4 separate regions of the Homo sapiens genome follow, and regions 1, 3 and 4 are each linked to region 2. The links are contacts of gene promoters, found by promoter capture Hi-C in blood cells and fetal thymus (Javierre and others, 2016). All regions are on one chromosome and are shown on one strand. The core of a region is centred on a gene start or on the middle of the fragment in contact, and the rest is flanking DNA. Distances in the headings are between cores, read along the strand shown.

Region 1 (4,239 bases), core at 482-2,981, 170 kb after region 2:
TGTGACATTTTTTTCTTTAGTGTTGAGATATTAATGAAGTATACCAAATTTCATACTTTAAAAAATACTGTGAATAAAATGCATGAATATTAGTGAAATAATGATGTCTCTTTGGTATTAAAGGCTTCTTGCATTTTAAGCATTTGTATATTATAATTTTTACATTTAAATCTAGTCTGGAAAAAAATGTGTCTATGTATGTATGATTGAACATATATCTAGAAGAACTGGACATGTTCTGCATTGCTTTAGAAGATGGATAATTAGTCAATAGGTGAAAGGTACCAGGAGGGAAATTCCCTCTCAAAACATGGCAAATCTTGCCTAACAATTTAGAATGATCAGTAAATTGACCCGAACCAAATAACCTCATGAGTTGGAGATCCATGGTAGTAACTCCTCCATCAAGTAGGGTTGTTCTAAGATTCTGATTATAGTTATTTCTTTATGTCTCTCTCAGGTGCAGAGAAATAGTAAACAACTAAAAACAAAGTTATCATTTTGTTTTTTAAGTCATAAAGTTTTTGAGTCATCGTATGACTTGCTTAACTCATGACTTTTATAAAATAAAAGGTAAAGCATATTAAGATACGTATTTGAGACTATGGAGGACTTATTCTTCAGTATAATCAATGACAGTGCAAAAAACATTGATTACCCTGAGCTATGTACTGGTTTCCCTATGACCTAGAAGAAAATAGGACCTATAAGTCCTGTTTTCAACTTTAATAGGACTGATGAAACATTTACTCATTTAGGTTTTTAAAATTTGCTTAAAGGAACAATCTTCAGGTAAATTCTCAAGAACTTGGCCTCTTTCTTATTTCCTGTTAGCCAAGTAAAACTGTCTTCTAGAGTGTGGTTCTGTAATGTTGTCCTGACTTTGGCTATTGACTCTCAGGTATGTGCAAGAGGTGAAATAATTGGCGTGAAAGTTCTAGGCATATTGGCTATGATTGACGAAGGGGAAACCGACTGGAAAGTCATTGCCATTAATGTGGATGATCCTGATGCAGCCAATTATAATGGTAAGAAAATTTGAAAAGTCTGAAGTCTTTCTAATTAATTCATAAGCACCACCATACTTAACCTATAATGACAGAATTGTAAGCCCTTACCTTCAAACTGTTAAAGGATGGAGGAACAAAGCACTGGACAAGCATTATTTCTATGACTGCACTTGTAATTAACTAAGTAAACTTTCTCCTTCATTCCAGGAAAGAAAAAATCTGGTAGGTTCTTACTGTTTTTTTGGTCCTTTCCTTCCCCACATACCAGCACTCAGTTGGTATGTTTATTTATTTTAAAACATTTAATTGAGATATTCACATATCAAAGAGTCACCATTGTAAAATGTACAATTCAGTGGTTTTTAGTATATTCACTAAGTTGTACAACCATCACCACTCTCTAATTGCAGAACATTTCATCAGCCCAGAGGAAATCCTGTATCCATGGGCAATCACTCCCTGTCCCCCTTCCCTCAGTCCCTGATGACTGCAGATCTACTTTGTGCCTATGGATTTGCCTATGCTGTTATTTCATGTAAATGGCATCATATAGGTGGCCTCTGTGTCTGGTTTATTTCACTTAGCGAAGTAAGTGTCTTCAGGATTCATCCGTATTGTAGTATGTATCAGCACTTCATTCCCTTTTTTTTTTTTTTTGGTGGTAAATTTTACATAACATAAAATTCACCATTTTAATTAAAGTGTGAAATTCAGTGGCATTTCATTCATTCACAAGGTTGTGCAGCCATCACCACTAGTTCAAGTCATTCCCTATTCCCTCCTCCTCTCCAGGCCCTGGCAGCCACTAATCTGCTTTTTGTCTTTATAGCTTTGCCTATTCTACCTATTCTAGGTATCTCATATACATGGACTGGTACAATATATGGATCTTTGTTGTTGCTGTTTCTGGTTTCTTTCACTTAGTATAATGTTTTCTAGGTTTATCCATATTGCATATTGTGGCATCTGTCAGTACTCCTTTTTATGGTTGAATATTATTCCATTGTGTGGATATACTACATTTTGTTTATCCATTCATCAGTTGATGGACATTTGGGTTGTTTTGGCTGTGTAATGCTGCCATGAACATTCCTGTACAAGTTTTTGTGTGGACTTATGTTTTTATTATTGGGTACATACATAGGAGTTGCCAAAGCTAGAACACTTTGAGCAAGAAAATAAAGTAGTATTGTAATATAACCTGGAACATAAAATAAATCTCCATGAGTCTATACTGACAAATAAATGATTGAATAAATAGACAAATGAGGAAGAATAGACAAATCTCAAAGCAGAAGAATTCCAAATAATTTATGCAGATACTCCATTCTCAAGGAGGTCCTTAATTGTGAGTTGTGCCTGGTGACTTCCTTCCAAAGAGTACAGTGTGGGTAAGGGAGAGGAGAGGATGACTTTAGAGCAGAGAAACTTGACAAACACTGCCTCAGCCAGGTGATGGAGGTCAATGTCAGCAGTGATAAGAGTCACCTTGAGAGCATGTTCCCTCAAAATGATGTGATGTATATTTGCATCTGTGTTAATTCATTGAAGAAGGACTGGAAGAATGCCAATCCTTTAATGTTTCGTTTCAATTTTGAAAGGTGAGAGTGCATTCACACCATCTGTTCACTACTTGGTAGTACGGCTCTGTTCTGTTGGTCCGTGTGTGCATTTCCAACGTGCTTCTTATGCAAGAGAACTTGGCATGCTGTGGCCACAATTAGTGAAGCCAAGCCCATCACTCTGTCAGCACTCATTTACTAAGGCTTTATTTTCCTGCAGTTCAGGTTATTAGAACCCTGAAAACTTTCTCGGGGTGGCTGGTCCCATGGCGCAAGTAGTATGCAGCTTTCCCTAATGTCAACCTAAGGCAGTGTCTATTGTCCATCCTATAGCTTGCCCCTGTGCATCTCTTCCATTTGCTGTCCCTGAGTTGTATTTATATAACGAAATTTAAACTTCAGTGTTTTCCTGAGTTCTGTGAACCATTTTAGCAAATTAGGGGACCTGGGGAGAGGATTGTAGAAACCCCTAATTTATAGCTGATAGTCAAAAGTACAGGAGGCATCTGAAGTGGGGCAGTCTTGTGAGACTGAGCCCCTAACCTTTGAGATCTGATGCTAACTCCAGGTAGATAGTATCAGAATCACAGTGAATTACTGAGCACTCAGTTGGTGTCTGAATAATTGGAGAATTAGTTTCTGTTATTGGAAAACATCAACATTTGCATGTTGGATTTCTGGATTTCCAAATTATTTCTATATCAGGTGACACATTTCATGTAAATTATAAGTTCTTTGAAATTTACTAGTGCTTAAACATTTCCCAGTGCATTCTGTAAAGTTTCCATACTTTTAGTGATATTATGATAATAGAATGCATGCTATTCTTTATGCAGATTATAAATTGGATTGAAGCGGCCGGGCGCGGTGGCTCACGCCTGTAATCCCAGCACTTTGGGAGGCCGAGGCAGGCGAATCATGAGGTCAGGAGATCGAGACCGTCCTAGCTAACACGAAACCCCATCTCTACTAAAAATACAAAAAAATTAGCCAGGCATGGTGGTGGGCACCTGTAGTCCCAGTTACTCAGGAGGCTGAGGCAGGAGAATGGCGTGAACCCGGGAGGCAGAGCTTGCAGTGAGCCGAGATTGCGCCACTGCACTCCAGCCTGGGAGACAGAGCGAGACTCCTTCTCAAAAAAAAAAAATAAATTGGAGTGAAGCAATGTTATCTTATACAAATATAAATAAGCTTTTGTTATTGTTGAATGTATTTCTCTTCCTCATAATACTTTTCCTAACTGACTTTTTAGGATGTGTATCTCTGTTTGCTTGCATTGAGCAGGAGTTTGTTATTTGAAGTGCAGTTTGATAACATTGAGGCTAGCCATTGTTGATGGCTATACAGAAACTTAAAATTTTTAAAGCAGTGCACTTTTCTGTCAGCCAGAACTAAAGTATTGTTATGTACAGTGCCTGTACTATCCAGCAAAGTCTAGTCACATTTAATACGTAACCCATCAATGGATATCAATCTAATCTATTTTTCTTATCTTTTAGTATGTAATAGTGTTGTGATCCTCTGACATAGCCTCTGCCTCTGGACCAGGGATAGTACCTCAAGCCTGTAATCCCAGTGCTTTGGGAAGCCAAGGCAGGAGGATTGCTTGAGCCCAGGAGTTTGAGACCAGCCTGGGCAACATGACGAGACCCCATTTCTACAAAAAA
Region 2 (4,565 bases), core at 516-3,015:
TGAGCCCTTACCATGGGTACAGAAACACTGTACTGGCTGTCTCAAGTCTGCGTATGGACTAGCAGAGGAGAGAAGACATCCACGTGTAAAAGTTGGGTAGAAGTGTCATGCTGGTTTTCAGTGAAAACAGAAGTAGCTATGCCTGCTTTGTCCACAGTGGCAAGCAGCATCTCGGCTTGGGCAGAATGGGACTCTACCCATTAGTTATTTATATCTGGTACTTGCTATATATCTGGCAGGGATGTGGTGTTGATGGGTTGAGAGAGATCTCCATAGTTTTCCCTGGGAAGGCACAAGGGGTCAGAAAACATGGCTGCTTAAGTATCCACTTGACTGGTAACCCCTTGAGGGCAGGGTCTGTGTCTGATTCATGTCAGTATACCCCAAGACACAAGGCTTTGCATATACTAAGCAATCAGTTTCAAAAGACTTACTTTGGAGATATTTATCATCCTCTTCTCTTTATTCCTACTAACCTATTGTAGTTTTTTCCTAGGGCTGCTATAACAAATGGACATAAACTGGGTGGCAACAGAAATTTATTCACTTACAGCTCTGGAAGCTATTAAGTCCAAAATCAAGGTGTCTGGAGGGTTAGTTCCTTTTTGGAGGCTCTGAAGGAGGAATTATTCCCTGCCCGTTCCTAGCTTCTGGTCCCTGCTGGCAGTGCTTGGCACTCCTGGCCTTGGAAATGCATCAGCTGATCCCTGCCGCCATCACCACAGGTGGTTCTCCCTGTGCGTCTCTTCTGTGTCTCTTCTCTTACAACGACACCAGTCTCAGTGGATTAGGGGCCCGCCCTACTCCAGCATGACCTTAACTCATTACATCTGCAACGGCCCTACTTCCAAATAAGATCACATTCTGATGAACTTTAACATATTGTTGGGGGTGGAGAGGGCATAAGTAACCCTTAACATCCATCGAGGCCCAAGGGAATGTGTGTTCTTTGACTGCCTAGACCCCCTAGAGGCGGAATTAAATATTCTTTTTTTTTTCTTTGAGACAGAGTCTCACTCTGTCCACTCAGGTTGGAGTGCCCATCTCGGCTCACTGCAACCTCCGCCTCCCGGGTTCAAGCGATTCTCCTGCCTCAGCATCCCGAGTAGCTGCGGCTACAGGCGCCTGCCACCACGCCCGGCTAATTTTTGTATTTTTAGTAGAGACGGGGGTTTTGCCATGTTGGCCAGGCTGGTCTCGAACTCCCGACCTCAGGTGATCCGTCTACCTCGGCCTCCCAAAGTGCTGGGATTACAGGCGTGAGTCGCCGCGCCCCGCCCTCAAGTCATATTTTATAGATGAGAACATTAGGATTGGAGACGCAGGGCCGAGACACAGGGCCTTGCATATACTAAAAACCTCAATGGGCACCCGAAGTCATCATAGGAAAATTTCCCTATGCTCCATGTTCACGTGTTTCAAAGTATCCCTGATCTGGCTAATTCAACTCCATTCCCTCGAGAAAACCCAATCTGGAGCCCCGGTCCTAGAGATCCTGGGATGTACTGCGCGTCCCACTCTGTATCTCCGCCCCCTCAGGCGTTCTCCCTCTAGAAGCAGCACACAAAGCGGTTACTCCCTGCGGCCGGGAGCGCGCGGGCTGCCCTTCCGCGCGCCACCCCCGCGCGCGCCGCTCCCCCACTGATTGGCTGAGCGCATCCCGAGCCCAGCCTGCTCCCGCCGCGGCGCCGGTCCTGGCGCCGGGATTGGCGGAGTGGCCGCGCGCGCAGATCCCGCAGCCCCGCGCGCCCCGCCCCGCCGGCTCGGAACTCGCCTGGGGCGCCGCCGGCGGCGGAGGGAGCGTGACTGCGCTGCGCAGGGCGCTAGGAGGCATTGTCGCCGTAAGTGGAGCCAAAAGCGGCCCGGAGCGGGACCACACGCTTCTTGCCCCGCAAAGTAAATGTAGTCCGAGGTCAAGCGTTGCAGGGGCTGGGGGAGAGAGGGCGAGAAGTGTTCCGATTTTTGCAGCGTCCCCTCCCCTCCCCCAGGTCACCCGGTGGAAAAGAGCAGCGGTGCACCAGCGGAGGCTCTGGCGGTGCCAAGGGGCTCGGCATGCGCGGGCTCTTGCTTGCTCACTGCACCTGGACCCCGATGGTTCAGGGGAGTGGGTGCAGAGGTGCCAGGGAATAGGGAGCTCGGAGAACCGCTCCCAGGCGGGCCTCCATTCCTCGCGGGAGGCGCCCTTGCTTGGAGAGGCTGCTGTGCATTTCGTCCCCGAAGCGACACTTTCGGGGTTTGCTTCCGCTCTGGGGAGCTGCAGACGCCTGCTCCAGAGCGTGCCTCTCGGCCTCCGGGCAGCGTGGGAGCCCCGGGGCCTCTGCGATCACTACCATTCTTCCCTCTGCCAGCTTTATTCTCCCAGTCCCCGCCTGCCGGGCCAGCGGACGAGGTGCCATTGGCTGCAGGCACCGGGGGTGAGGCGGATCCTGGCACGCGGGGCTGGGGGACCCTTGCCTGGCTACCGCGCGTAGTGCTGGAGGCTCAGTCCGAGGATGCCTAGATGTTAGCGAGGGAGCACGCGCTGAGCTTCCCGAACCCCATGCCACAAAAACAAGGCGCCAGCAGGTCCCGCTCACGTCCCAGCGGGCTTCTTTCCCTGGGGTGGGGAAGTGGGTCAACTTCGTTCTGATCTGAAGGGGGGTTTGGGACTATTTGGGTCGCTCCTCACCTCCCCACCCGCTCCCCGGCTTGGCATGGTCCAGAGCCCGGGCTGGAGCCAGCGGTAGGGCCAGCTTGCACACATGGCTCCGGAGGCTCCGGTTGCCCATCCGAGCCCCTGCCAGGCTCTAACGTTCCCAACTGACAACACCAGTAACTAAATATAGGAGCAGATGGTGGGGACGGGCTGTCGCAGCGGCTCCTTTGCAGAGGTCTCCGGACTGCAGATAAGGTAGAGTTATTGATGGTAAGGGCTGGAGTCAGGGGGCCAGGTCAGGGTTTAAGCAAAAATCACCCCTCCCCCAGCCAGCCTGAGTCCAGGTGAAACCAGGTTATAGGGACAGGAGGGCTGTATTGCCAGCTCCCCCAAAGCAGGACAACGTTTTTGTCTGGCATTGAATTTATTACATCCAAACTTCCTCTCTACACCTGTTTGATTACCTACTGGTAATGCCTTGGTGTGGGAAACATGTAATGGTTCGCAAAGTCCTTTCCCAAAAGTTACATATCAGTTACTTCCCACAATAATCCGGTGAGGAAGGTGGTATTTCCATTTTACAAATGGGACTGCTCACAACACTGTTAACTTTGCAAAACTATGGATTAGGCTGCCTTCCTCAAAAAACTTCTCTTAGTTCGCTACACAGAAGCAGAGGACAGCCTTGTAAGAGGGCTGCAGTTCCCTTCCTCAGTAATCTGGGAGCCCATTGGCTCCCTGTCTCTCTCTCTCCTGAATCTCTTTGTGCACCTGCTGCTCACCCCTGTCCCTTCCCCCTGGCCATGCCATGTGCCTTCATGCCCCCCTAGGCCTGGCCCTGTAGCCTTACTACTATCAGGCTCATCCTGCCTCCCAGTGGGAAGCTTGTTCTAGCCCATACCCAGTCTCTGCCCCTTTACTCCCACAGTGGGGGCCTTATGGAAGGTGTCCAGGAGACGTTTGCTGGATTTAAACATTTCACCGGACCAGGATGCTCACTCTGAGGAATGGGGTTGAGGGTGTGTGGAGAGGGCCATGCTTTGAGGATGTAGGCAGTGTGAGTATGAGCTTCGACCCTGTGCTGAAGTGTCTCTGGGATTTGGAGTGCTTTCCCTGACATTTTCTAAGGCCTACCCTCTATTGCCTGGGACTGGCTGGGGCCAGTAGTGCCAGCTGGCTGGGGTGCCCCAAGCGGCGATCTGGCCCATGTGGGCTGATGGTGTCTGTTTCTGCCTTTTGGAACACTCTGTGACTCTCCACTACCACCATCCCTGCAGATGGCATTGACCAGGTACCCTGAGGAGCTCAGGCCTGTCAGCTGGACTTCATGAAACAATTCTTCCTTGTGGAGAAAGGGGCAGTTTTAGGTGAAGGGAGGATGGCTTCCTAGCTAGTTAATAAGCGTGGTGATTTTAAGCAGCGGGAACCTTTTGGGGGTCCCGAGCACATTTTTGCTGTACTCAGAGCATCCTCCATCCTCTGGCATAGAAGGAAGGGGCCCTTCTTCCTACTGAATTGCCCTGACACCTAGACTTTACATGTTGTTTCTGTTCCTGTACCTGTGTACACTCTGACCCACACAATAGGACGTCTGAACTTGCCACCAGTGGTGAAATTTTTAATCTGACTAGTTTTCATCAGTGGTCTAAGGCAAGGGTCCTCAACCCCTGGGCTGTGGATGGCATAGGTCCGTGGCTTGTGAGGAACCCGGCTGCACAGCAGGAGGTGAGCACCAGTAAGCATTACCGCCTGAACTCTGCGTCCTGTCAGACCAGCGGCCGCATTAGATTCTCCTAGGAGCCTGAACCCTATTGCGAACTGCGAATGCGATGGATCTAGGTTGTGTGCTCCTTATGGAGAATCTAATGCCTGATGATGTGAGGTGGAATAGTTTCATTCCTCTCCCACTACAGTGGGAAAAATTGTCTTC
Region 3 (4,728 bases), core at 1,626-4,125, 160 kb before region 2:
AGGAACTTAGCTTCTTAGCTCATTGCTGCCAAAAGACCATTGTGAGTGGGACCCAAAGGTAACTCAAAAGGAGACTCAGGACCCAATCTAACTGTGGCCCTGAAGAAAACAGTTCTTCCTAAATTCACCAAAGTCCGTCTTCTGAAACTCCTTAACCACCTTCCCCTCCCCACATTTAACAGACCTTTTTTTTTTTTTTTTTTTTTTGGTAGAGACAAGGTCTTGCTATGTTGCCCAGGGAGGTCTCAAACTCCTAGCCTCAAGTGATCCTCCTGCCTGAGTCTCCCAAAGTGCTGGGATTACAGGTGTGAGCCACTCTTCCCCTGGCCTGGCAGCCTCTTTATCTCTCCAAACTCCCCTCCCAAATGACCTCTGATCTTAGACCCAGATTGACCCCAGATGCCTTGCCCTGCCTTCCAGCTAGGCATCCACCCTTTGCCCCAATCAGGGCCTGATCCATGACCCTGAGCAAAAGCTGGGCCCAATCAGTCATTTCCCCAATGTGTGCACAGCTACAGCCGAGCATAGGGCTGGCTTGGGGCAGGCCCCCTCTGCAGGGGCCACAGGCAAGAGCTGTTTCTGAGAATTGCTGGCCAGCAGTGGGGAACACATGGCTGGTACATATAGCCCTCTCTCAGCACCATGGAATCCTCACCCCCTACCCACCGGCTCCCACCACTGCCCCTCCCACTCAGCACCGGCCTCTGTTCCAGAAGCCAATCAGATTCAATGGGCCAGAGAGGAACAGAAGTGAATACTCCACACAGAGACCCAGGCCAAAAACTCCAGAGCCCACACTAGCCTGTGGTCATGGGACTGGTCCAGTAGGGCCGAGTGCAACAGAGCAGGGAGTATTGGGGACCCAGGCAGGCTTGAGGGCACATTCTTTCCAGATAGGCTGAAAATCCAGATGGTTACATGAAATCTGGACTATTATGAAACTTTTTTTTTTTTGAGGAGTCTCACTATCACCCAAGCTGGAGTGCAATGGCACGATCTTGGCTCACCGCAACCTCCGCCTCCCGGGTTCAAGCAATTCTCCTGTCTCAGCCTCCCGAGTAGCTGGGACTACAGGCGCCTGCCACCATGCCCGGCTAATTTTTGTATTTCAGTAGAGATGGAGTTTCACCATGTTGGCCAGTCTGGTCTCTGACTCCTGACCTCAGGTGGTCTGCCTGTCTCGGCCTCCTAAAGTGCTAGGATTACAGGGGTGAGCCACTGCACCTGGCCAAAACTTTATTTTTATAATGTAATGAGTTATTTAAAAACAATTTTTACAGATAAAAAACACCCCATCTGGGAGCCAGCCCCAGCCCCAGGGCAGCACAGACATACCCACGTCCTGAGATGACAGCCTCCGTGCTAGTTGTGAAACAGCCACCCCAAGACCCTGAGGGTCTCCACCCACCCACTACCTGACTCCTGTCTGGGACCTCTGGTCCCCCCGCCAGGACCCAGAAACAAGAGGGTTAACGCCTGGCACCACAGGGCTCCTGGGTGTTCACTCTGATTGGCCACATCCTTGATTGGTCCTAGGGCCACAGCAGTTGTTGAATGCTTTGAACATGGCCCCTGCATGCATCTCCCCTACCACTCCAGAATCTGGTACCCATACCAGTGGGTCGGGGCTGGGGATGTGTCCATCTCATGGATCACTTCCACTTCCAGAAGGTGGAAAAGTGACCACGAGCCAAGGAGGGGCCCCTAGGACCCCTAGCAACCCCAAAGCCACATCAGCCACTCCCTGGCTGTGCACACCTGGAAGGGTGGCTGGGGCAGGGTGGGGTGGGGTGGGGTGGGGGCTCACCTGGCGGTAGGTGCAGATGATGATCTCCCGCAGGTGGTAGTGCATGGGCGTCATGGTCTCGCTGACAGTGTCCAGCGCTGCGTCCACCTCCTTCTTCACACGGTGCCCATCGGGTAGCAGCTGCACCACCTTCATTACTACCTGGGGCCAGAGAAGGGGGGTGAGCAGACATAAAACTGGTAAGAGCCCTCAGCCCAAGCACCAGGCTTGCACCCTCACCAAAAGGCCACACCAGGCCTAAGGCCCAGGCGCTGAACAGAGAGCCCTGCCTGCTCCTCAGTTCTCAGACTGAGGGAGGACAGGGGGATCCTGAACATCTCCGGGGCCAGGCTACCCAGATGCTTTTCTTTTTCCTCCACAATTGGGATTTATTGGTTGTGTTGAGGATCAGTACACAGACATTGAATTTGTACCGAATATCTAAAAAAGGCATGGATTATGATTCCTTTTTAGTTATTCCATTGACATTTATTGTTGTTGTTGTTGTTGTTGTTTGGAGACAGAGTCTCACTCTGTCATCCAGGCAGGAGTGCAGTGGCATGATCAGGGCTTACTGAAGCCTCAACTTCCTGGATTCAGGTGATCCTCCTACCCCAGCCTCCTGAGCTGCTGGGACTAAAGGCCCATGCCACCACGCCTGGCTAATATCTTGTACTTTTAGTAGAAACGGGGTTTTGGCATGTTGCCCAGGCTAATCTCGAACTCCTGGGCTAAAGCAATCCACACCCTTGGCCTCCCAAAGTGCTGGAAAGTTATTCCATTAACTTTCCAGCTTAAAATTTGGAGGCAAATTGTTCTTTAAGAAGATATTAAGTACCAGTATTTTCAAGTGTTGATAAACTGTGGCATAAGCCCCACCAATCCACAACTTAATGTCTTGCACACTACACAGATTTTCAGTGTCCAAGCACATCAATAGAGTTACTAGGAAAACGGGACTGCCACAGCCAAAGACATCACAGAGTGCACACAGTTCTCACAGGAGAGCCACAATCAAGAAGTGGTTTACATTAGAAATAATTCTACAAAAAAAACCATGGGAATATAAGTCATTTAAGATGTTCAAGACATATTAAATGCACGACTGTGACTCCAAATTGCCATTTTGTATGCTTTGTATTACATGATACAAAAACCACCCCAATGCACCCATGGAATGTTAAGCTGATCTAAGGTGCTTATTTTTGTTTTGTTTTGTTTTGTTTTGCTTGAGATGGAGTCTCGCCCTGTCACCCAGTCTGGAGTGTAGTGGTGAGATCTCGGCTCACTGCAACCTCTGCCTCTTAGGTTCAAGAAATTCTCCCGCCTCAGCCTCCCGAGTAGCTGGGATTACAGGCACCTGCCACCGCACCCAGCTAATTTTTGTATTTTTAGTAGAGACAGGGTTTCACCATGTTGGCCAGGCTGGTCTTGAACTCCTGGCCTCAGGTGATCCACCCGCCTAAGTCTCCCAAAGTGCTGGGATTACAGGCATGAGCCACCACGCCTGGTCGAGGTGCTTATTTTTTAAGCAGTAGAAATCCTGCTTCAAATGAGGCCTCATGCAGAACTTTGATCTATAAAACAGATAGCTGTCACGTACTAGGGCTGGAGGGGTGAGGAGGGGGTGTAAGAAGCCTCCCCACCCTCCTCCTAACCTGCAGCAGCCCCCAGCCACTGCGCAGACGCTCAGAGTTGGACACCACTCATCTGATATAATTCCCCACCCCAGCCAGGTGCAGTGGCTCATACCTGTAATCCCAGCACTTTGGGAGGCCGAGGTGGGGAGATCGCTTGAGGCCAGAAGTTCAAGACCAACCTGGCCAACATAGTGAGACCCCATCTCTGAGTAATAAGAAAAAGAAAAAAGAAAAAAAATGATATAATCTGCCCCTTACTGCTGGGAAAACTGAAGCCTGTTTAGGTTACTCTATGGCTTTTCCCCCACAGGCCCTCCCAGCCACCCTGTGCTGAGTTCCCCTCCAAATCTGTCTACACTGCACCTCTCTACAGCTGGCACCTGATCCAGACCCCCATCCCCCTTTGCCTCCACAGCAGTACCCTTCTGACCAGCGTCTCCACCTCCTCCCCGCCCTCCCTCTCCCTGGTGGCCAGAGAGGTCTTACGAAAGTATAAATGTGAACCCATGTTGTATAATCCCCGGGCTTTGATCTCTTCATGGCTCTCTTACACTCAGCACAGAAACTGGGGTCTAAAGGCTCCCCGCACCACTGGGTCCAGCCTACCTCTCCAGCATCACCCATAACCCCTCCCACCACCTACCCCCACCACCCTGCAAGGTCCCCACAGCGCCCTGTCCCGTGGTCGACAGCCACCTGCTCATCTGCTTCCACTTTCACACCTGCTCCCCACTAAGTGAGGGGCTTTCTGCCGGCACCTGGAGTGGTGCCTGGCACCTGCCCGGTGCCCCAGCATCAGCTGCCCAGTGAATGAATGAACACCTAACTCGCTCTCTTCTCTCTCTGGCTGCCACTTAAGAACAGGGAAGGGCCTTTCCCCAACTCCTGCGTTTCTCAGAGTCCTGGCCTGGTGCTGGGCACCCCAGCAGGCATGGAGTTGCAACCAAGTGGGAGGAGAAAAAGGAACAGTCTGGAAGGAACTAGTGGCAGATCTGGCTCAGGCTGTGCCCAGGGGAGTAGGAGGGAGCTGTCCAGTCCACATCCCCAATCCCAAGCTCTAGGCAGGTCCCCAGGAGGGTGCAGGGAACTGCGTCCTCTGGGGGCCACCTCAGACAGAGGGCTGCAGCTCTTCACAGGGAACCCAACTCCTGGCCTCTGCTGCAGCTGTTCCTCCCCTGAATTCCACATCGACAGCTGTCACTACTGCAAAGCCAGAAACTCGAGGTCATCCTAGGTGCCCTCCTCACCCCACATCCAGGAGCCCTCAAGACCTACCAATGAGGACTGGGCTGCTCCTGCTCA
Region 4 (4,485 bases), core at 1,053-3,552, 250 kb after region 2:
ATGCCTGGCTAATTTTTGTATTTTTTGTAGAGATGGGGTTTCACCATATTGCCCAGGCTGGTCTGGAACTCCGGAGCTCAAGCAATCTGCCTGCATTGGCCTCCCAAAGTGTTGGGATTAGAGGTGTGAGTCAGCCTACATCTCATTTTTTTTTTTTAAAAGATGGGGTCTCATCTAGGCTGGAGTGCAGTGGTGCAATCATAGCTCACTGTGAACTTACATCTTAAGTGGTAAATTGTATATGTGAATTCTATTTTGATTAAAAAATTAGATGGTAAGCGGTCTGTCCTATTATTAAAGACATTATTTCTGCAAAAATGACATATGCTTGTTTGAAAAAAATTCAAACAATACAAAAGCTTAAGGAAGAAAATGAAAACATTATCTATGACCACTATTAGCACTTTGGTTCAGACAGCAGGTTTGATGTGTTGAGAATTGAACTTGGGCAAGTTGTTGAACTTTTTTCCAAAATAAGGAGAAAAAACTCATACCTTAAATCGAAGATATGGGCAAAAGTGCAACAGATGCTAACTGCTGTAATCATTACCTGTATATGTGTATACATACCGAGGTGGATGTGTCTTATTGGCCATAAATGGGATTAGATCTTTCATGTGGTTCTGTGGCCTGACTTTTTGGGACTGGGCAAACTAATCTGCAACATATATTTTATATATATATATATAAAACGTGGCTGCTGTGTATTCATTGCTACTCTGTGCCAGGCACCATGCTAAAATGCTTTACGTAAATGATCTCATTGAATCTTTTCTACAGCTCGAAATCACAGTGGCTTACCCCTGTAATTCCAGTGCTTCGGGAGGCTAAGGCAGGAGGATCCCTTGAGGGGCTAGGAGTTCAAGATCAGCCTAGGCAACATAGTGAGACCCTCATCTCTACAAAAAAAAAAAAAAAAATTAGCCAGCTCAGGAGTTCAAGGTTATAATGAGTTATGATCATGCCACTGCATTCTGGCCTGGGTGATAGAGCAAGACCCTGTCCCTAAGAAAATTAAAAATAAGTAAATAAATAAATAAATATTGCCTGACTTTTTCTTTTCTTTTTTTTACTTTTGAGACAGGGTCTCACATTGTTGCCCAGGCCGAAGTGCAGTGGTATGAAGCACTGATCCATGCTACAACTTGGATGAACCTTGAAAACATGTTTTGTGTAAATCAGATTGTGTATGTGTGTCTTTGTGTGTGTGTGTTGTGGGAGGGAGCAAAGGTAAAGTTACTCACTGCAGCCTCAAACTCCTGGGCTCAAGCAGTCCTCCTGCCTTTGCCTCCTGAAGTGCTAGGATTATAGGCAGGAGCCACCACACCCAGCCCTTGCCTGACTTTTTCATGGACAGACTTTTTGTATAAAAACGTCATTCACAGGCTGGGCACAGTGGCTCGCACCTATAATCCCAGCACTTTGGGAGGTCGAGGCAGGCCGATCACTTGAGGTCAGGAGTTCGAGACCAGCCTGGCCGACACGGCGAAACCCTGACTCTACTAAAAATACAAAAAACAATTAGCCGGGCATGATGGCACATGCCTGTAGTTCCAGCTACCTGGGAGGCTGAGGCAGGAGAATTGCTTGAACTCAGGAGGCAGATGTTGCAGTCAGTGAGCTGAAATTGAGCCACTGTACTCCAGCCTGTGCAATAGAGTGAGACTCCATCTCAAAAACAAAACAAAACATCACTCACCCTTTAAAAACAACTGGCTACACAGTACTGCATTGTATGGGTTTATAATATTTTATCCTGTAGCCTCTCATTGGTGGCAGTTTCCATTGATTGATGGAGTGTCACACAGGTGGAGGTTTGCACAGCACTACTGCTATGTTAGAACATACAACTGGGCATCCACTAATTCCATACGTGCATTTTCATCTCCTACAGGGTGTGTGGCTGGAAATGCAGCTCCATGGCTTAAGCCCTTGCTTTAGGTGTCTGGCCAAGTAGATCATGGCCAAGCAGAGGGGAGTTCACTGTTTTCTGGGGCCAGGCAAGAACCGACACTGGCAGAGCCAAAGAGAGTCGGCATGTCCAAGAGTATTGGGCAAGGGGCTGCCAAAGAGGCAGGGTGAAATCTGCTGGAGAGTCACTGGCCTCCCTATTCCACAAGTAAGCGTGGCAGGGGTCAGTAGAGGAGAGAGAAGAGAGAGAGAGCAGATTGCAGGAGAGGCCTCAGGCAGCCTGAAGAGGAAAAGTGCCTCCCCTCCCTGGCCCTGCTCTGGTCTGGGTGTCCCCTCAGGCCCCAGGCCCTTCACAGGGAACCCCAGATAAGCAATTTGCCTTCCTTGGGTGAGGCAAGAGTTTGCCCTTTCGGGGAAGCAGGTTGATGATACTAGGGGCCTGGGGGTCAAGGGCTTGGCTCCTTTGGTCAACTCATTGCCCCTGAGGTCCACTCTGGGGTCACTAGACTTTCTTTCCCTGGAGGAAACCCCATGAAGGGCCCGGAGCAGGCTTGTATGTCCACCTGATTGTCAAAGCTGCCCTGGCATGGCAGGCTGTCTGTCTGTCGGCCCCTGTCACCTGTCCTCTAAGCCTCTCCACCTTCTGCCACAGGTGCCCTGAACTCTACCTGCCTCCTCCCTTCCTGCCACTGGGCCTCTGGCCCAAGTTGTTTCCTCTGCTAGGAAGGCCCCCTGATCTCAGCTCTTTTTCAGGGCTCTAGGCTGTCCTTTTTGAGTGTCCCTGGGTGCTCCAGTGTGACCTGACGCACAGTGGACTCCCCTGTCCCTATCCCCGGCCAGCTGCGTAGCCCCTCTCAGGGGCCATGCCCAGCTAACTTGGAAGTGGGGCTTTCTGGGTGTTTTCTTGACCTCATCCCTGGCTGACAGCCCCAAGGGTAAGACCCAGCACAGAGGGTTGCACGCTGCCAGGGGCTGGTGAAACACACGCCACCCACGGCCTGCCTCATCACTGCCTACATTCTCAGGCCCTGCGCAGCTCCTGGTGTGCACTGCTACCTCTGGCTGGGCCTGTGGGCCCTCCTGGGTCCTGGTCCCTAGGAGACATTCCCTTCTGGCCCAGTTGGCAGATTCAGCCTGAGGTACGCTTGGGATTAGCTCTAGACAACCCTTCTGAGGGCTTAGAGGAGCCAGGGTGGCCCTGCCTGCCGGGGGGTTGTCTTGGGTCCTAATCTCTACGAGGGCTCAGCCTCCTCATCTGTGAAATGGGTATGTTCAAGCCTCAATGCTTTGGGGACCATTTGACCCACGAGAAACAACTTTAAATTCCCTCCAATCCATTGTGTCAGTGCCCTCCGTCCGCTCTACTGTCCGCCCCCAGGGGAGAAGTTAGGCAGTGGGCATTTGAACACCAATGGGAACAGTGCCCGGAGTTCTAACCAAAAGCTGCCCCATAAGTGTGGGATGATTTGGGGACCGTCTTGGGGAACCACCACCATGTCTTGGAAACCAGTGTGTACGAGGACAGCTCAGGATATTATAGCTGGTTGGGCCTTATAGTCCCCTCCCATTATAGGGGGTAAATTGAGGCCTAGAGAGGGAAGGGGTTGTGCCCCAGACCCGCAAAGATGATCAGGGCAGTGCAGTGGCCTTCCAGCGGCCTGAGGGTCCCAGATGAGCTGGAACACACTTCCTTATGAGGCTGTTCAGTGGCTTGATGTCTATCCTTCAAGGTTGACCTCAGAGTCTACTTCCTCCTTCGCTGACACCCGCTCCAGTCCCCCTTCCTGAAGCCCACAGCAGCTGTTGAGCCTCTGGGGCTGCTTTCTGTATAGTGTGAGTTTTGTTTCTTTTTCTCAGCATCTCCCCCCAGCAGCCTGGCTTATTTCTGCCTCTCTTTAGGGCTCAGCACAGGCCAGGAGGAGGGTTGATTGCTTGTCACCTCTCAGGGTCTCAGCTGCAGTCAAGAGTGCCCCTCAATGGGCTGTGCGGCTCCTCCCACACCAGCAGCCCTCTGCCTGCCTGAGGCCCACACTGCAAGCATCCTAATTTGGGGTTCTGCTGGGCTGGAGGCAAGGCCTCTGGTGCAGCCCCAGGCCAGCCCCTGGGCCCTCCTCTGTCTGGGGCAGACTCTGGGATGCACAGGTAACCCTGTTTACCAGCCTTCCAGGCTGGCTTGGGGAGCCCAGGCAACTTTGCTGCTGTAGGGCCCAAGGCTGTTGAGTTGGATAAAAGGCAACTTTATACAAATATAAAAATATAAATTTATTTAATGTGTGTATACACAGGAGCCTTCAGAAGGAAGACCCGACCCCCAAAAGAGGTACAGAAGCTTATATACCATCTTGAGGTCATACAAAGAAATGGGGACTGGGTGCAGTGGTTCATGCCTGTAATCCCAGCACTTTGGGAGGTTGAGGTGGGAGGATCACTTGAGCCCAGGAGTTTGAGACCAGCCTGGGCAACAAAAGGAGACCCCCATCTCTACCAATATTTATTATTTTTATTGTTTTATTTTTTTGAGATGGGGTCTCACTCTGTGGCCCAGGCTGGTGTGCAGTGGCATAGTTACGGCTC

What was found. The method cuts DNA at HindIII sites, captures the fragments that hold promoters and counts their contacts. A CHiCAGO score of 5 or more calls a contact.
Region 1: a contact is called between a fragment that was not itself captured here and the fragment with the promoter of LRRC20 in region 2, in 9 of 17 cell types (total CD8 T cells, neutrophils, monocytes and 6 more). The highest score is 7.4, in total CD8 T cells.
Region 3: a contact is called between a fragment that was not itself captured here and the fragment with the promoter of LRRC20 in region 2, in 1 of 17 cell types (M2 macrophages). The highest score is 5.9, in M2 macrophages.
Region 4: a contact is called between a fragment that was not itself captured here and the fragment with the promoter of LRRC20 in region 2, in 1 of 17 cell types (activated CD4 T cells). The highest score is 5.9, in activated CD4 T cells.

The regions. Positions count from the first base shown.
Region 1 is chr10:70,210,252-70,214,490 of GRCh38, reverse strand. PPA1 (inorganic pyrophosphatase 1) reads left to right here. Exons shown (of 11, transcript NM_021129.4): 6 at 902-1,028. Among named protein-coding and RNA genes, the nearest start is that of PPA1, 21 kb to the left of the region's middle. The HindIII fragment of the contact is 4,068 bases long and covers 1-3,765 here.
Region 2 is chr10:70,379,825-70,384,389 of GRCh38, reverse strand. LRRC20 (leucine rich repeat containing 20) reads left to right here and starts at 1,765. Exons shown (of 5, transcript NM_001278212.2): 1 at 1,765-1,841. RefSeq lists enhancers at 1,261-1,360, 1,891-2,090, 1,935-2,554 and a silencer at 1,491-1,860. The HindIII fragment of the contact is 9,077 bases long and covers 1-3,521 here.
Region 3 is chr10:70,544,526-70,549,253 of GRCh38, reverse strand. It overlaps PALD1 (phosphatase domain containing paladin 1), which reads right to left. Exons shown (of 20, transcript NM_014431.3): 18 at 1,808-1,948. Among named protein-coding and RNA genes, the nearest start is that of PRF1, 56 kb to the left of the region's middle. The HindIII fragment of the contact is 5,823 bases long and covers 1-4,728 here.
Region 4 is chr10:70,125,562-70,130,046 of GRCh38, reverse strand. All of the region lies in intron 1 of AIFM2 (AIF family member 2), which reads left to right. Among named protein-coding and RNA genes, the nearest start is that of AIFM2, 5.0 kb to the left of the region's middle. The HindIII fragment of the contact is 3,881 bases long and covers 362-4,242 here.